Regions from separate parts of the Homo sapiens genome. Here region 2 is linked to region 1. The links are contacts of gene promoters, found by promoter capture Hi-C in blood cells and fetal thymus (Javierre and others, 2016). All regions are on one chromosome and are shown on one strand. Each heading gives the region's core, a stretch centred on a gene start or on the middle of the fragment in contact. The rest is flanking DNA. Distances are from core to core; before and after follow the strand shown.

The links. The method cuts DNA at HindIII sites, captures the fragments that hold promoters and counts their contacts. A CHiCAGO score of 5 or more calls a contact.
Region 2: a fragment that was not itself captured here is called in contact with the fragment with the promoter of ORMDL3 in region 1 in 1 of 17 cell types (total B cells); the score reaches 5.1 in total B cells.

Annotation. Positions count from the first base shown.
Region 1 is chr17:39,926,351-39,929,977 of GRCh38, reverse strand. It overlaps ORMDL3 (ORMDL sphingolipid biosynthesis regulator 3), which reads left to right and starts at 2,377. Exons shown (of 4, transcript NM_139280.4): 1 at 2,377-2,494. It overlaps LRRC3C (leucine rich repeat containing 3C), which reads right to left and starts at 2,246. Exons shown (of 4, transcript NM_001195545.2): 1 at 2,164-2,246. It overlaps LOC124903999 (a long non-coding RNA gene), which reads right to left and starts at 3,258. Exons shown (of 2, transcript XR_007065750.1): 1 at 3,216-3,258; 2 at 2,976-3,050. RefSeq lists enhancers at 1,901-2,512, 2,513-3,123. The HindIII fragment of the contact is 24,326 bases long and covers 1-3,627 here.
Region 2 is chr17:39,573,903-39,577,529 of GRCh38, reverse strand. No RefSeq gene overlaps it. Among named protein-coding and RNA genes, the nearest start is that of NEUROD2, 32 kb to the left of the region's middle. RefSeq lists an enhancer at 2,400-2,974. The HindIII fragment of the contact is 2,619 bases long and covers 613-3,231 here.

The sequences.
Region 1 (3,627 bases), core at 1,128-3,627:
TTGTCCTAATTTTCTTCATTCTAGACTTTGCTGACTATATCCCTGGGGAATGTATGTTATGCTATTTTGTGTCCTCATCTTTTCATATAACTTAGCAAACATTCCCCATACTGCCACAGGGTTTTCACAATCTGTCCTAAATGGCTTCATACTATTCCATCCAGTGGATATACTGTAATTTTTTTCTTGGGCATTTGGTTGCTTTCAGTTTTTCACTACTATAAATATTGCTGGAATGAACATCCTGACACATTGCAGCTTTTCCTGTACATGGGATGACTTCCTTAGAATATGCTACCAAAAGTGTAATTATGGCTCTGAGGCAAGAAGAATTTTTCAGCTTCTTGGCACACAGTGACAAGTGTTTGTCCAAGGGTTTGTATGTCCCCCAGCACGAAATAAGAGAGCTGTCACTCACTCTGAATAGTGCTTAGGGCTATTCACAGCTGAAGAACGTTTGGGGAAGATATGATAATTATGAGGGCCAAGAGAGAAGGAGAAAGATGACAACAGGGACTCCCGCTAAATAAAGCAGAAAGTGATCTGCAATTTACCACAAACCTAGAGTGAGTCAGAACTCTGTTCATTCCTATTGTGAAAAAAAAATCCTCGATAACAGGAGTTATTAATAGTGCATGACATGTTCAGTAATCTTTCTGTTAGACTCTGCATTAGTCAGAACCTTATTTGAGACGTGGACTCAGTCTGGGTCACTGAACTTCATAGAGATGTCAGGAAACTGACCAAGATCCAGAGGGATCGATCAACTTGATGGAGGATGAAGAATCCCAGAGAAAAATCAAAGGAGTCAAGCAGGCACACTTCGGAAAAAACAGAGACACCTTTCTTGCCTTAATGCTGGGGAGGTTTCTGTGAAAAGAACAACACTGGGTTTGCTTATGTCTGCAGAAAGATGACTATAAGGAAAGGCACCTCCACAAACCAGGAGAAACTTCCACAGGACATAGGCAGAGCTATTTCAGACTCAGATGATTATTTCGATCTTGGAATGAGCCCTTTTGGGGCCATTGGCCCTGGAAATATTGAAGAAGCTGCCTGTTCTGCTCTGGGTGGTTCAAATACCCACCTGCCTGGTGACCACTAAGTGCCTCTGGGGGTCCCACTCCAGCTGTGTGACAACTGTTTCCTGGCAGCCCCCTGGGGAAGGAAAGGTAGGTGTAGTCCGAGTAAAGTGCTCCGCAGTTTCCCTGGGCTAGCCTTTTCCTTCCTGTTCCCTCACTTTCAGTTCAGGGTGCCATGAACTGCCATTCAGAGTCAGGTTGGCATGCCATGACATCATCTGACCTTGCTATTCCAGCCCTGCCCTGCATAGAGTGGACTTAGAAAGAAGCTGGGTAAGGAGTTGAAACTACCCAGACAAGACCTCTTGGTGACATGGAGAATGGGAGTAACCGAGGAGACCTCAAGAGCCATTTAGTTCAACCTCCTACAGTAATATTAAGTAGATTCCTACAATGCAACAGGTGCTTTACATACATTCTTTTGGGTTCCCACAACCTTGGAGGTGGGGTTTCACAGGTGTGGAATTGGAGATTAAGACAAGTAATTTGCCCAGGGTCACACTGCCAATAAAGGAGGGCCTACCCCATGTCTACCAGGCAGTAAAGTCTGTGCCCTTGCCTTTAGACGATGCAGATGTGAAAACTGCAGACCAGAGCCTCTCATTCAAAGCCACACAAGCTGACCTGAGACAGAAACTCAGGCTCCTTACTACTGATGGAGGAATCTATGATACGTAGCCTCTTCTCACGTCAGGTGCGGGGCGGCCAAGGATGTGGCCCGGTCCGGGGCAGCCTGGGCCAAGCGTGACTGAGAAGGAGAAGGCAGGCTCCGTTCCGGGCCCTCCAGACCCTCATCCCAGCCAATGTTGTGAAAAGCGCTCTCCCAGGAGGGCCCAGCAGGGCAAAGGGCCGGGCTAGTCTGTTTCTGGAGGAGCCAATCTGGGGCCAGGGCGGAGGCAGCCAGGTGCAGTGGAAAAATCCTGCAGTTGGGGTCAGAATATTTGGGTTTCGATCCAGTCTAGGACCCAGCAAAGACCTACAGAAAGTTACTTACAAGTCCGAGTCTCCTCATCTGCAAAACTGGGGCACGGATAAAATACACTTGAAGGGCACAGAAGCAAAAGTTGGAATTGTTACGCACCAAAATTCTATCATCCGATCTGACCATCACGTCACGGTACAACTTCCAACCGTGCGTCCCCGAAGAGGCCGGGAACGGAGCCCAGGAAAAACTACAACTCCCAGGAGGCGTCGGGAGGGCCGGCCCGGAGCCAGCGGAAGAAACTACAACTCCCAGAAGGCGTCGGGCGTGCCGGCGCGGGGCGGTGACGTACGGGGACCGGCGCGGAGCGCTGATTCGGCCGGAGCTGCCAGCGGGGAGGCTGCAGCCGCGGGTTGTTACAGCTGCTGGAGCAGCAGCGGCCCCCGCTCCCGGGAACCGTTCCCGGGCCGTTGATCTTCGGCCCCACACGGTGAGCCCGGAAGGAACCAAGAGGCCCCAGGGCTACGGGAGGGGCGGGAGAGAAGGTGGGGGCTGCTGGGGAGGCGCCCCGGGCTGGAGAGACGGGGGCAGAGGGAGTGGGGGGTGGAGGGAGTGCATCAGCCGAGGGGGTGCATCGGCTGGGGAGGTGGCCAAGGAATAAAGTGCGAGCGGGAGGCCGGGGGTGGAACGTCGGGAGGAGCGCCTCGGCTAGGGGTGGGAGGCGGGGAGCGGCTCGGCTTCGGGGATAAACGTTTGGCTGCCTCCAGGGCTGGGTGAACGCGTGGAGATGGCTGTGGGGTCCCGGACCGGACCGGGTTCCGAGTGCGAAGACCCAGGCTGGGGAACAGAGCGGGACCCCTCCCCCCGGCCCCGCACCCGAGGTCTCACTCAGAAAACCCCAACAACAGTGAGGACTCCGCCTCTTCGCTCCTCCTCTCCTGTGCTTAGTGCGGGTTCGCCTGGGCACTCGCTTTCCGCTCCTACCGCCCTCCCCCAGTCGGGGTGGCTGGGCCAAAGTTGAGAGGTTATCAGCTGTGGTCCTGCAGCTTGGGGGGTGGGCGGAATGGACATGGCATTGTGACGTGCTGCCCCGGACTCCCCGTTGGGGTCCCCATCCAGGCCTGGATGTTTTGTGCTCCTCTTCCAGAAGACAGGAGGTTTGCTGTTGTGAGGGCTGCTCTTTCCTGGGGGAGGGAATGGGAAGGGCTCACCTGGTGGCTGCCCTGGTGGTGCTCAGCCTTGGCTTGAGTGTCTGGCATACTGGCTGGGCCCGGATATTTGTATGTGGAGCCAAGAGGGTGGGGCGGGAAGGAGGGGGAAAGAGCTACCAGCAAAAAAGTGGTTAACACAACAGAGTTGCTGCAGGCTCTGGTTTGAGGCAGGTTATGAAACCACATCAGGGCCCAGCACTAAGCAGCCACCTGCCAGCTATGGCAGCAGAAGTTTTCGGCTCAACTCCTGTAGACCTAGTCGACCTCTGCCAGCCTCTTCTCTCTGTTTCTCCCCATCTAGGGTAGGGGCCAGTTGGTTGTTTTACTAATGGAAGTGATATGTATCCATAGTCACACGAAAGTCTCAAGAGTGTTTCCTCATTGCCAGTCTTTTTGTTAGTTTATTGATCTC
Region 2 (3,627 bases), core at 673-3,172, 350 kb after region 1:
CAAGGCAGGCAGATCACGAGGTCAAGATAAAGACCATCCTGGCCATCATGGTGAAACCCCATCTCTACTAAAAATACAAAAATTAGCTGGGCGTGGTGGCGGGCGCCTGTAGTCCCAGCTTCTTGGGAGGCTGAGGCAGGAGAATCGCTTGAACCCGGGAGGCAGAGGTTGCCGTGAACCAAGATTGTGCCACTACATTCCAGCCTGGCGACAGAGCGAGACTCCATCTAAAAATAAATAAATAAAAATAAAATAAAATACAAAAAATTAGCCGAGTGTGGCAGCGTGCACCTGTAGTCTCAGCTATTTGGGAGGCTGAGGGCTGAGGCAGAATTGCTAGAACCCAGGAGGTGGAGGTTGCAGTGAGCCAAGATCACGCCACCGCACTCCAGCCTGGGTAACAGAGCAAGACTCCATCTCTACAAAAAAAAAAAAAAAATTTGGGGCAGCTTTAGACCCTCTTAGCACAGACTTCACCCTCTTAGCACAGACTTCACTCTCAAAAGGCACCTACAAATGCCTGAATGAATGCATGGGCAGGTGAAGGGCCCTGGCTCATTCAAGGTCGCTGTAGAATTCCTAGAGTCAAGGTCACTCTAGGAATTATAAGCTTCTATTAGTTATCTGTCCTAAGTATAGGAAAGAATGGCCTAGAATGCCCCAACTATATTCCTGGACTTTGTGGAGGAGGCCCAATGTAGAGACCAGGAATGATGAAAAAATTTCATTTTACAGAGGAGGAACTTAGGACTCAGAAAGGGAGGTATAACAGGCCAGAGCCACGGGGTAAGTCAGGAAGCTCAGAACTGGGGCCTCTGACTCTCAGTCCAGTGCTCTTCTTCACCTGCATCATGAATCTGAAGGAACATTTTCAGCCACTTGTCCAGTCCCAGGAGAGCCTACAAGGGGCTGGAGTTTTGGGAGGCAGTGGGAGAGTTGCTCCAAGAGGCTTTTCCTGAGGAGAAAGGAACAGAGGGGCTGGGGAGGCTTCTTAACTCCCTCTCCTGCCTCAACACACACATTGACACACAACGGCAGAAATTTTATTTCCAAATGTCCCTTCTCTGGGGAGCTCGCTGTTTCCCAGGAGACGCCGGGTAGAGATGCCCCTTCCTGCCAGCCTCCCTGGCAGCCACTAGGCGGCTGTGGCTTCATCTTTTGCCTGGAGACGCCACAGTGAGGGTCCCACATGGTTTGTATTAATAGGAAGTGGAGCTGAGGGCTATAGGCGCTGAAGATAGGGCAGGCCAGCCAGGGATGGGTGGGCAGACAGGCCAGTGGGTAGACTAAGGCAGCCACACACAGGGCCACACTGAACAAAGGTCCTGGGCAGCTTTGCAAACCTAGATACATGAGCTAACCTGATTCTGGCTACTGGCAAACTGGAAGTATTTTTATTGTGTTTTCCCTTTGAATATAAAGATACTGGATGACTGGTGTAAAAATAGGGAATTCCAACAAAAGGGAATGAACAAAAGCCCCAGACTCAAATTTTAGGATGTCTTTTCCCGTAGGAAATGAATTAGCCTCTGACAGAAGTCTAGGGGAAGAGTCTGCTGTACTCAGGAAGGACAGGAGGAAGCATCATGACACTGTGGAATGCTCTAGAATCTGGGAGGTGTCCCTGCACCGACCCCTAGTATTGGAGAGCCTGCTGTGTGCATTGGTCTGTTGTCCCCAGATCAGTAGTTTCACAGTGGGGTTTTATTTCTTGAGATGGAGTCTCACTCTGTCACCCAGGCTGCAGTGTGCAGTGGCACGATCTCAGCTCTCTGCAACCTCTGCCTCCCGGGTTCAAGTGATTCTCGTGCCTCAGCCTCCTGAGTAGCTGGGATTACAGGTGCGCACCACCATGCCTGGCTACTTTTTGTATTTTTAGTAGAGACGAGGTTTCACCATGTTGGCCAGGCTGGTCTTCAACTCCTGACCTCAGGCGATCTGCCCACCTCGGCCTCCCAAAGTCCTGGGATTACAGGCATTAGCCACCGAGCCCGGCCTCAGTGGAGTTCTTTCCATCCTGTGTTTTTTCCATACTCCCAACCTGCTGGGTGCACCATGCTGCCCTGCTGTTGTCACCCAGTCAATGTGGGTTGCAAGAATAATGAATTTACAGAAGAGGAAACAGGCCCTGAGATAGACACTGAAGTTGCCAGAGAGGCTCAGATCACATTCACAAGCATGACAGGTATACATTAAACGGCCTCAAATTCTCCACCAGTTCCCTCTTTCCCAGGGCTGAGAGGGATCAAAGGTTGGAGTCTATGGAAGAAACTTCCCAGGTCTGGCCCTTGGACAGGACAGGGGCAAGGCACGAGAGGGAGACTGTCAGGGATTGTGGGAAGAGAGGACCCAAGGAGAGAAGGACAGTAGTAGAGAGCCTGGTGTAAACCTAGATATTGAATCCGTGCAATGCCAATGAGGTAAAGAGCAGTTTTGCCCCTCTACTGTGACAATGGGGCGGCTTTGGCTGGAAGGTTTGAGGTAATCTTCCAGTTAAGCAGGGATTTAAGCATATGGAGAAGACTCACCTCCCTCAAGGTATCCACCCAAAACAGCAGCAGGGATAGAGGTCAGCCCCTTATCTCCCTTTCTTCTTTTTGCCAGAGGACTTAAGGTCCTGCCATCTACACATTACATATTATCCCATTTAGTCATTGGCAACTGGCTTATCCCTATTGTATAGATGGATAAGCCATGGCTAAGAAAGGTAAAGCGACTTGCCCAGGCTACAAACCAAGTGGCGGAACTAAGTAGATGCTCCAATCTCAGTTCTGGCCCCAGATGCTCTTTTTTTTTTTTTTTTTTTTTTTTTTTTTTTTTTTTTTTTTTGAGACGGAGTTTTGCTCTTGTTGCCCAGGCTGGAATGCAATGGTGCAATCTTGGCTCATTGCAACCTCTGCCTCCCGGGTTCAAACGATTCTCCTGCCTCAGCCTCCAGAGTAGCTGGGATTACAGGCGCCCGCCACCACGCCCAGCTATTTTTTTTTTTTGTATTTTTAGTAGAGGCGGGGTTTCACCATGTTGGCCAGACTGGTCTCGAACTCCTGACCTCATGATCCGCCCGCCTCGGCCTCCCAAAGTGTTGGGATTACAGGCGGGAGCCACCGCACCCGGCCCAGATGCTCTTTTTAAGGTGTCAGTACTTGGTTTGGGCGTGGGGTGGGCACACCATGCTGGATTCTGGGGAAAAGGTCCTCTCCCTCACACAGACTCCTGGCCTTCCTTTAAGCTTAGATCCTTGCGGGGTGTCCTGTGTTGGTTGGGTCCAGACCCTGCCCCTGCTTCTACTGAGAACTGTACTGAGAAGATGCCCAGGGAGGCACATAAGACACGCGTCACCAGGCCTTGACACACGTGACCAACGCTCCTCAGAGATGTCACCTTTCCCGTTTTACCAGGGCTTGTTTTCCTGAAGTTCTCAGTCCTCCACTGTGTTCTTTCCCCACCCCAACCTTTCCATATCCTCCCGGTTCAGAAGGCGCAAAATCTTTGCTGAGGGCGGGCCGAGGCAGGGTGTACGCGGCCCAGAGCTGGAACCTTGGAAGAGCACCGACCGGACACTGCTCCGCTCTCCCTTGGGGCCCTCCCCTCCCCGCCCACCAAGAGAGCAGAGGCGGGGCCGGTCCT